Linked DNA regions of Homo sapiens: all the other regions are linked to region 1. The links are contacts of gene promoters, found by promoter capture Hi-C in blood cells and fetal thymus (Javierre and others, 2016). All regions are on one chromosome and are shown on one strand. Each heading gives the region's core, a stretch centred on a gene start or on the middle of the fragment in contact. The rest is flanking DNA. Distances are from core to core; before and after follow the strand shown.

Region 1 (3,339 bases), core at 519-3,018:
ACTGTGCAAGCAGCCAACTTCCTACATGCCTAATATTTGATCAACAATTTCCTCAAAAAGGAAAGTACGAAACACTACCACTTCTTAAGCAGCTAGCTAACAGCAATTACTTCTCATAATCCTACCAATATCTAAAATCCAATAAAAATTCCAAAACACTCTCAAGCAAGACAATCAACACCACCTTTCACTTCATATGACTAACCTCTCTATCCCAAATGTCATGACTAAATGTTACTCTGTATCATTCAAGATGCCAACTATGACGACAAAATGTCTATACCTAGCATTTCTCAAGTCAGAAGTTCCAGTATACTCTGTTATCCAGTATAGTACAGTTACATCTGACACAGGGATGTTATTTAACAAACGTGGTTCTCTCTTTTCAAGACACTTGGTGGAGAAGTGAAAAATCTGTTAACAGACTTTGACTACAGTCGTCTCAACAGCCGATTCCTAAGTGGCCCATCCTTTGAAATGGAAGAAGATATTTACACATACATACGATAGGTACTTACATTATTATAAAAAGCATGTCTTTATAAGACATCCATGCTTATGTTTACAGCATCATCTACCATACTTCAAATAAATTTTGACCAACTCCACCCCTCTGCATCCGAGGAAGCTTAGTCCTCTCCATTTGCAAATTTCATTCATCTCAACAAGGACTCCTGATTGACTGAGTGTTCAATTCATCAGAGAGGCAAAAATTTTAAGACTCAACCTCTCTGCCAACTTTGTTATCCAAAACCATTTATTTGACCTTCCACCTCTTCCCTCGTCATTCGTTAAACTCCCTTCACTTCCTCCTCAGCAACACTTACCTACCTCTTTATTATCCCCACCCTGCCTCGCTACTCCAACATTCCTTCACCCCACCAACCAGGAGCTCGAATGCCTGCAAACGCTCGATTCCCTCTGCAGACACCACCACAGCACCAGTATCCCAAGCTCTCCAACAAGCCACCCCCACACCAGACCCCCCGCCCCCAAGCCTAAGCGGCAGAAACTCATAATTTAGGGACAAGGAGGGAGTGCTCTTCAAACCCACCATACGAAGTCGTTGCTTTTGTCCTCGTAGGAGTTGATGAGCCCGTTGCAGAGGGGGGCGAGGAGAGGTCGCTTCCTGCTGCCGCTGCCTAGGCTGGAGCTGCTGCCTCCTACGCCGGCGCTGGGCCTGGCCGCGCAGCTGTGCCGGGACAGGCCCGTGGACACCGCCCCGCCGCCGCTACCCGATACGGCGGGCGCCACCAACACAGGCCGCACCGGGCCCCCGAGGCCGCCCGAGCCGGCGGCCTGGGCCACCCCGCCGGACACCAGCGCTGCCGCCGAAACCGCCACGGAAGGCGGCGACGGGGAAGAGGATAAAGACGAGGAGGCGGAAGTCACCGAGGAGGCCGCCGAGGACCCGGGGCTTGTCCCAGCGGAGCCCGACCCGGCCTGGCGGCTACCAGACATCGTGACTCCCTCCCCTCCAGCCGGGCGCTCGGAGGAGAGGGACCGCGACCTCGACCCTCCGCCGCCTCCCCTCCCCTCAGCCTCAGTGCATCCTGAGGACGCCCGCCGAGCCGGAGGTGGGGCTGAGGAACAATAAAGTTGCGTTTTTTTTTAAGGCAGCCACACAACAGCGTCCCACGGGAGGGGGCGGAGGAAACTAAAAAAGCGGAGTAGAAGGCACTACCGCTGTCGAGGCCGCCGCCGCCACCGCGGTCCCTGTAGCAGCCAACCCCGGCGCGCCGTGGCCGGCCGTGCGCGCGCGCGCGAGCGGCGGAAGAGGCGGGCGTGGCGGGGGATACAACTGGGGACGCAGCGGGGCTGCGCTCAGACGCTCAGGGCGCGCCCTCGGGGTCGGGGCTCCCTGGCGAAGGGAGTCTGTCTGTCCCAAGCCGCTTTCGTTCCAGAAAACGTGCCAGAGGGCAGGCCGTCTTAATACAGTGAAAGAATTGAGGAGACTGGAATGAATGGTATAGGTGGTGGGGTGGTTTGAAAGACGGGAACGTAGCGGGCGGAAACTCTCGAAAAGCGACTGCGCAGGCGCGCGCCGGGCGCGGACGCTCACGGGTCACCCAGGGTATCCGCCCCAAGCGGAGAATATCGGCGCAAGCGCGGAGTAGCCGTGTCACGCATGCGTGCGAACGCACCACATTCCGGAACGGGAAGAAGGAGCTGTCTCTCTCTTCTGAGGGGTAGGCAGGTGCTTCCGAATCGCGGAATGTAGGTGCTCATAAGCTGGAGACCCACGGAAAGAACCTAGAAGCTCCGAGCGGTTGCAGACAGCACTGCATTGAGCCAACGACTCCTGCTCTACTGATGGTGATTCCACAGCTTTGTGAGGAATAAGTTAAGATGAAGTCAGTGAAGTTTTCTGCGAATTGCAAACATTGTAGCAAGTGTTACCAATTTTATTAGTTCGACCACGACTTCACTCCTATATTTTGAAAAGCTGTTTGCCAAATTGAACATAACAATAATGGGAAAACAGATTTTGCTCAATCAGACCCAGCTCAGTCGGAACCTAGGTTTATTGTGGATCTGATATAATTCTAGCACAAAACAAGGAAACCTAGCATTTAATACCACCAGAAAATATACAATTTCTGGTAGGCTTTTTTAGAATATTGAAAATTGATTATAGGCGGGCGCGGTGGCTCATGCCTGTCATCGCAGCACCTTGGGAGGCCTAGGGGGTCGGATCACCTGAGCCTGGAGGTGAGGATCAGGCTGAACCTGAGGTTAGAGACCAGCCTGGGCAAGATAGCGAAACCCCGTCTCTACAAAAAGTACAAAAAATTAGCTGGGCATGGTGGCAGCAGGCCTGTAGTCCCAGCTACTCGGGAGGCTGACATGGGAGGATTGCTTGAGCTGGGGAGGTTGAGGCTGTAGGGAGCGGAGATCCCTACACTCCAGCCTGTGAGACAGAGACCCTGTCTCAAAAAAAAAAATTTTTTTCATTTGCCGCATTCTAAGGGGTGGGAGTTAGAAACAACTGTGTGATTTTATCCTTTTCAATTCTATCATTCTATGATTCTTATATATTTATTTGGGAATAAAGTGTGAAAATACTCATGACTTAGTAAACTACGTGCGTATTCAAGGAGGTAAAGGAAGGCAAAGGTTTTTAAAATTTAAAAAAAAATGAGAATTACATAATTGTTTTTAAACCGTTATCCTTGGCTACGAAGATCAATAACAAGGTGACACCAGTCGGAAACTGGACAGGAAGTTGCTGGGCAGATGTTTTTGCGGAAGTATTTTTTGTGTAAGATTGTGGCTTTTGGCCAGGTGCGGTGGCTGAGGCCCATAATTCCAACACTTTGGGAGGCCAAGGCGAGTGGA
Region 2 (3,339 bases), core at 568-3,067, 4.5 Mb before region 1:
TTAGAGCTAGACTTGGAAAGAGATGTTAAGGCCAGGCTCCTCCCTTTAGATAGGAGGAATATCTGGTTCAGAGAGGAGATTGACTTAAAGTTAACACGGCTAGTTTAGATAGATACGGGACGAGGGCTCGGTGTTCTTTTCCCGGTATCCCTTAGTTGTAACCTGAAAGCCTTCAGGAAATCGCCCTCGCCAGGCCATTCCGCCACTCTGCCCATTCCTTCCTCACTCCCTCCCCCTCCGCCCAATTTGGTATCATGTTTAGATCTCCACGCCCGCAGTAGCTGTCTACCAGAAACAATTCCTAATTTTGTTTTTCCGTTCTCTTATTTGTTTTATTATCCGTTCCTCCCACGCCCCAGCTGGATTATTTTACTCATTGAATCATATTCACTACACATCTTTTAAAATTAATACAGTATCTATGGGTCCTTTGTTGATACAGTATTTTAACTGTCTGAAATACTGTGCCAGGCACTTTCTAAAGACATAAAAATAAGAGGGGGTGTTCAAGAACAAGAGTAGACAAGAAAACAGCAGGAGGAAAGATCTGCGGACACTAAAGGAAAGGAAAGAATAGACACCCTCTTACCAAAAAGTTGTTCTTCTTTTGTTTGATGTTTATTTTTATGTAAAAATGTACTAACGAATTTGAAAGATGCCATGACTAAGGCAACGATGCTCCACTCTGATTCACTTGGAGTTGAATCACTTGGAAAGCTTTTAAAACTACGTAGGTGCCCACGTGCTACCTAGATTCTGATTTAAATGTTCTGAGATTTAGAAACAGCCGTTGAGTTGTCAGTTGAAGGTTCTGAAAGCTTAATGCTAAACTCAGTTGCCTGTGTTTATTCAGTCCAAGTTGCTGTCCAAGTCAGCAACTTGGACTGAAACGGCCCACTTAGAAGAGAAGCCTCTCATGGTTTGTATCCCTGTCTAGGTGTGATAGTGGGTCTACCCCCAGACTCCACAGGTAACCCTGACATTATTTTTTCTTCTACAGCTGATCTTTTTTTTTTTTTTGAGATGAAGTCTCACTTCTTCCCCCAGGCTGGAGTGCAGTGACACAATCATAGCGCACAGCAGCTCTGAACTCCTGAGCTAAAGTGATCTTCCTGCCTCTGCCTCCCAAGTAGCTGGGATTACAGGCATGAGCAGCTGTGCCCAGCACTTACAGTTGATTTTATGTCTGTATATTTGCATGTTATGGGCTATTTTCTGGCTTTGGTGCCTTAGCCAATTAGAGTTTAGCTAGTTATAGCCTCATCTCTTAGACAACTTAAGGTGTGGTCAGTGAGCTCTAACAGGCACGTCATTGCATAGCTTTTACAGATAATCCATTCTTTGGGTTTTTTTGTTTTTTAAACATAATTCTTTAGTCCTGCCAGTCATTTTGGAATGATCGCTTAGGAGAGGGGTAATGCAAGCCCCACCCTTAATCACCTGAACAAAGTCCCTTTGACTAACCCCAATATTTGTGAAACTTAGAAAATGTCATTTTACAGTTAACATGAATCAAATATACCAGTAAGCCTAAAAGATTATAATAGCACTGAGCTTAGAGTCAGAACTCCAAGCAACTTGAGTTACTTATTTCCTCCATTTTCTTTTTAGTGAGCTTCAGTTATTCAGATGTTAGTCCTCTAATTTTCTTTTCCCCTTTTTCAACATGACACCTTCATCCTTAAGAGGGCCTGCTGTCCTCCTAGCTAGAGAATCAGCGTTTTGCTGTCTTTCAGGACTAAATCTCTGGGTTTTTGATGGGATAGCAAAGGGAATCTCAGCATCTGATTCATTCTTAAACAGACTTTATACCATTCCGCCTGTATTTATAGCTCACATCATGCTCTCTTCAGCTTTACGTGGTGTTTCCAATTCCTGAGCCTTATACAGGGTTTCACTGTGTGTATCAGGTTGCTTCATGGCCTGCTTGGGATTCCTACTTTTCAAGTCTGCTAAGGCAATTGCATCTTGATTCATCTCCCTTCTAGCTTTCAATATTTTGTTGCTAAATGTTCAACATTACTTAAAATGTAAAAGTGAACAAGGAAATACCATTTTTCATCTATCAGTGACTGAGAAAGAAGGAGTTGAGCAGAAGATCTGCAATCCAGTCTCTCCCTTCGTAGGGAAATACTCTCAGGAAAGCAAGGTTAAAGCAAGCAAAAAAGCATGTGATTTTTATAAAATATAAAGTATATACTAATTACAGACCTCCTGGCAAACAAACTAATGGCATTTGCTAGCAAGAGAGTCCATATTTACGGAATTCCTCTAACAGGATGTCCCAGGGCTGGGATTGTTTATGGTAAACACATTAAGAATCGATGTGGTAATTCCAGCACTTTGGGAGGCTGAGGCAGGTGGATCACTTGAGGTCAGGAGTTACCAGCCTGGCCAACATGGCAAAACCCCGTCTCTACCAAAACTACAAAAATTAGCTGAGTGTGGTGGTGTACACTTGTAACACCAGCTACTCAGGAGGCTGAGGCAGAAGAATAGCTTGCACTGGAGATGCGGAGGTTGCAGTGAGCAGAGATCGCGCCACCGCCCTCCATCCTGGTCAACAGAATGAGACTCCCTCTCACAAAACAAAAAAGAATCAATGCGGATTTCAGGGGTATGATTAACTGGAAAATACCGCGGAAGTTATGTAACGTAGCATAAAATGGAAGTGTTTTGTAACTGATTTGGCTCCTTCTGTGTAAGTGGGGTGACTGTACACTTGATTTAGAAACCACATCTACTGTCCTGGGCCAGGATGCATCCAAAGCAAGAAGAAAGGACCTGGGGATTACTGGTATCCTTGAAACTATTAGTAAAGCTTGATACTGAGTAAAATCTCTGATTTGAGCCTGATTTGACAGTTTGATCTTTTGTGTTAGCTCAATAGCAAAAATAAAAAAAATTTGATACTACAATATTGGGTGTGTGTATGTGTGGTATGGGAGCAGCGTGGGAGGAACAAGCATTCTTAAACAGTAAGAGTATAAAAATTGGTGCATTTTTAAAAATTTCATGGTAATTATATGTATCAAAATTTTATATGAAGTTCTTTTTGATCTAATAATTTTACTTCTAAAATTTATCCCATGGGTATACAGGTTGTATATAAAAGTATTCTATAAAAATATCTGTTACAGGATTTTTGTAACAGAGTGAAAAAAAAAACTCTAAATGTTCAGCAATAGGAAATTGCTGAAATGAGTCATAGTCTAGCCATTCAATAGAATAGTATGCAGCCATTAAAATGAACTAGATAGATCTATATGTGCTGACATGGAATACCTCTATGATGCTATAAGGTGAGAAAAGTAAGGTGCAAAATAGTGTGTAGACTCT
Region 3 (3,339 bases), core at 526-3,025, 3.7 Mb before region 1:
AGTAGTAATAAACTTCTGTCAAGTTTTTTAACTCCTAGTGAGGAAAATGGATGTGGAGAGTTTAAGAGTGTGAACATTTTAAGAAACTTTAGCTTAAGAAACTATTGGGTTAGTATATTTTGAGATTTGTTTAGACTGCCAAATTTAGAGACATTTTAATTATTCTTTAGCAAAACGATTAAAAGGCATTAAAATAGGACATTAAGGCTTAAAGGGTTTTTTAAAGGGTGATGATGATGAATGAGATTGGGGAAGAGGAGTGGTACCTGGTGCTGATTGGCAAAGGGTATGTTTTTTCTTTGAAGCCTCTGCTTTTGTGCCAAGTTGGAATTAATGGCACTTAATGGATTTCTAACTTTTGCTGCAATCTGGTGTGGTATTTCTTTTCCCAACAACCTCATTCCCTTTAACAGAAATGGCTACCAACAAGTCCTAGGGTTAGATAAAACGTTTGCAAGAGTTGATGAGTGCCTTTTAGTAGCCACTTTTGTCTCTTTTGTTATTCACAAATTGTCTCAAAATTTTGTGATCCGTTTCTGTTTTGTACATTGAGTGCTGTATGTCTGTTCTACAGTATTCTAGTTTCTGAGGTTTCCCCTCTCATGCTACCAATATTACTGTGTTATGTTTACTATCATAATTTTGTAGATCTTGATTATGTCTCCCCTCTGCTTTTGTCTTGTAGCCTTGAGTACTAACCTTAGATTATGTTTACAGAAAAACCATTTCATCTATGTCATTATTAATTTTTGTTGCTGTTTTTTCCTTTTGCATAGTTTATAATTTTTGATCAAGTAGTATAGAGTATTCTAGGCATAAATGCACTATAGCTGCAGCACAGAGCAATGATAGCTAATATTTGCTGACAGCTGTGTGTCAGACACATGATGTTTACTTGACAATAACACCTTTAATCTTTATAAGAACCCTATAAGATAGGTATTATTATTAACTTCCTTTTGCATTTTACATGTGAGGAAGTAGAGAGGTTAACTTGGCTAAGTTTAAGCAGCTGTTAAGCTTCGGAGCTTAAATTTGAACCTAGGCAGCACAGGCTCCTGAGTACTTTATAGGTCAGAGGCCTGTATTTTATATATGTGGCTCCATCATTTACTAGATATGTGTTCTTTGACTTGTTATGTAACTTCTTTGAACCTTAGTTGTTATATCCTCAGAATGGGGAAATTGATCCATTCATACTTCACAGGGTTGTTAGGAGGATGAAATAATACAAATGACAGATCTTTGTAACACAGTAACAGCGTATTATGTAAATATTTCATCATAACATTATTCAACCACATTTTGTTCTCATACCTACTGTGCCAGATGTTTTTATGAGCACCGAAAATCCAAGATAGAGGGTCACCAGCTTGTCTTGGTTTTAACACTGGAAGTCGCATAACCTAGGAATTCCCTGCATTAGTTTCTTATGCCTGCTGTAGCAAATTGACACAAATTTAGTGGCTTGAACAACACACATTTATTACCTTACAATTCTGTGGATGAGAAGTCCAAGATATGTCTCACAGGGCTAAATAAAGTTAAGATGTCAACTGGGCTCGTTCTTTTTGGAGGCTCTGAGGGGAGAATCTTTTTCTAGAGGCCACCTGTATTCTGTGGCCCCTTCCTCACATCAGCACTCCAACCCTTTTTTCAGTCCTTATGTCTACTAATGACTGGTCCTCCTGCCTCTTCCTCTTATAAGGACTATTGTGATTACATTGGGTCCAGCCAGACATTCCAGGATAATCTCCCTATCTCATAATCCTTAATTTAATCACATCTGCAAAATCTCTTTTACTATGTAAGGTAACATATTTAGGGATTAGGATGCAGACATCTTTGAGGGGGGCGCATTATTCAGCCTATACCCTATACCATACTCCCTCAGTCCTGGGCAAACTGGGAAAGCTGCATCACCCTAAAGAGGAAAAAAACATAATTAGTGGATATTCTGAGTGTGTCCCTTAATTAGTAAAACCTTGTGCATCCACCTTAATTGTCTATAAGTTATGTACATGTGCCAATATAGTAATAGTATATTAGTGTATGTAATTAATGCAAGTTAGATATTTAAGAAAAATGAGAAAAAAATAATAATTTCTGTTAACGGTACCTTTTGTTCTCATTAAAATAATAATTTTTAGTGAGAGCTATGTGATTGACCTACTAGATTATTTTATGTCATAGTATAGAAGAGGAATAGCTTCAACTACTTAGGAGTCAGCCCTGTCATTTTCTTGTTGGCTGTGCTTGCATTATTAAATTCTTTGCAGTAATTTTTTTAAAAGCTGCTTCCCGATGTTGTGAGGGTCAATTCAGTTAAAACTGAATAATTCCTAAGTCTACCTAACTGGGGAAACATAAACCACAGTGAATCATGGTGTGCTGTAAGTAAAACCCATTGTTTGTGGGACTTCCACTCTTTCCCTGGGTTTCTGTATGAATCCTTACATTAATCTTAGTAAAACTTATTTTTTAAAACTAAACAAATCTATTCTTCCTTCACCCCAAAGGATCATCTTGGAGAAGCTTATATTTAGACTTTCGGGAAGAGCTTGACATTTAAACAAGTCTCATACATTTGGCAAATATAACAGGTACTTACAAAGGTTTTTAGGAACAGCAAAGGAAGAATTCATATCCTACTTGTGGTTCTGTCACTAACTGTATGTCTTTGGACAAGTTACTTCTGTGAACCTCAGCTCTCATCCATAAAATGGTCTGCAGGATGGATAGTTCACAATGAGCGAATTTTGTTGTAGGCAGAGAGAACACTTACCCAGTTATCTAGAGCGTGAGTGTATGTGAGGAGAGATGGGAAGGGAGGCTAGAGCTAGGTTTTGAAAGGATTTGATTATCATGCAGATGAATTCTAATTCTAACCACCTGACAGAGGATGAGTAAGTGAAGTGGTTTAAACTGGAGAACAGGAGCATGAGGTCACATGGATCTTTTAATTAGATTGCTGTGGAGGGTAAAGTGGAATGTAGGGGACGTACTTTGGAGGCACGAGGTCCTAAGTCGTGGTCCCACTAGAAGAGAGTTGATATCTAAATCAAGATGTTGGCCTTTTTGTCCTTAGTAGTAATTTTTCTGAGTATGTCAGACCAGTTTTTATCAGTTTAAGAGGTTTATTTCCTGGTTTGTGATTACATTTCTGTACCCTTTTGCTTTTTCTCTCATGATTGCTGGTCTATTAATATACATAAGTGAGCAGAAAAAAATTTAAAAACTAGAACAATATATAAGCTGTTTTTTCTTTTTTGAGGTGATGAATAGAGCATATTGGAAACATATCGATAAAACATTTTGAAAATTCCCCAGGAAATCTGG

The links. The method cuts DNA at HindIII sites, captures the fragments that hold promoters and counts their contacts. A CHiCAGO score of 5 or more calls a contact.
Region 2: a fragment that was not itself captured here is called in contact with the fragment with the promoter of COP1 in region 1 in 2 of 17 cell types (total CD4 T cells and naive B cells); the score reaches 7.7 in total CD4 T cells.
Region 3: a contact is called between a fragment that was not itself captured here and the fragment with the promoter of COP1 in region 1, in 1 of 17 cell types (total B cells). The highest score is 5.4, in total B cells.

Annotation. Positions count from the first base shown.
Region 1 is chr1:176,205,518-176,208,856 of GRCh38, forward strand. It overlaps COP1 (COP1 E3 ubiquitin ligase), which reads right to left and starts at 1,769. Exons shown (of 20, transcript NM_022457.7): 1 at 1,055-1,769. The coding sequence starts at 1,461. It overlaps COP1-DT (COP1 divergent transcript), which reads left to right and starts at 2,148. Exons shown (of 5, transcript NR_185981.1): 1 at 2,148-2,354. RefSeq lists silencers at 1,207-1,566, 1,597-1,806 and an enhancer at 2,307-2,376. The HindIII fragment of the contact is 7,879 bases long and covers 627-3,339 here.
Region 2 is chr1:171,742,520-171,745,858 of GRCh38, forward strand. No RefSeq gene overlaps it. Among named protein-coding and RNA genes, the nearest start is that of VAMP4, 2.1 kb to the left of the region's middle. The HindIII fragment of the contact is 2,003 bases long and covers 817-2,819 here.
Region 3 is chr1:172,535,192-172,538,530 of GRCh38, forward strand. The region is part of intron 1 of SUCO (SUN domain containing ossification factor); the gene reads left to right. Among named protein-coding and RNA genes, the nearest start is that of SUCO, 3.7 kb to the left of the region's middle. The HindIII fragment of the contact is 1,515 bases long and covers 1,019-2,533 here.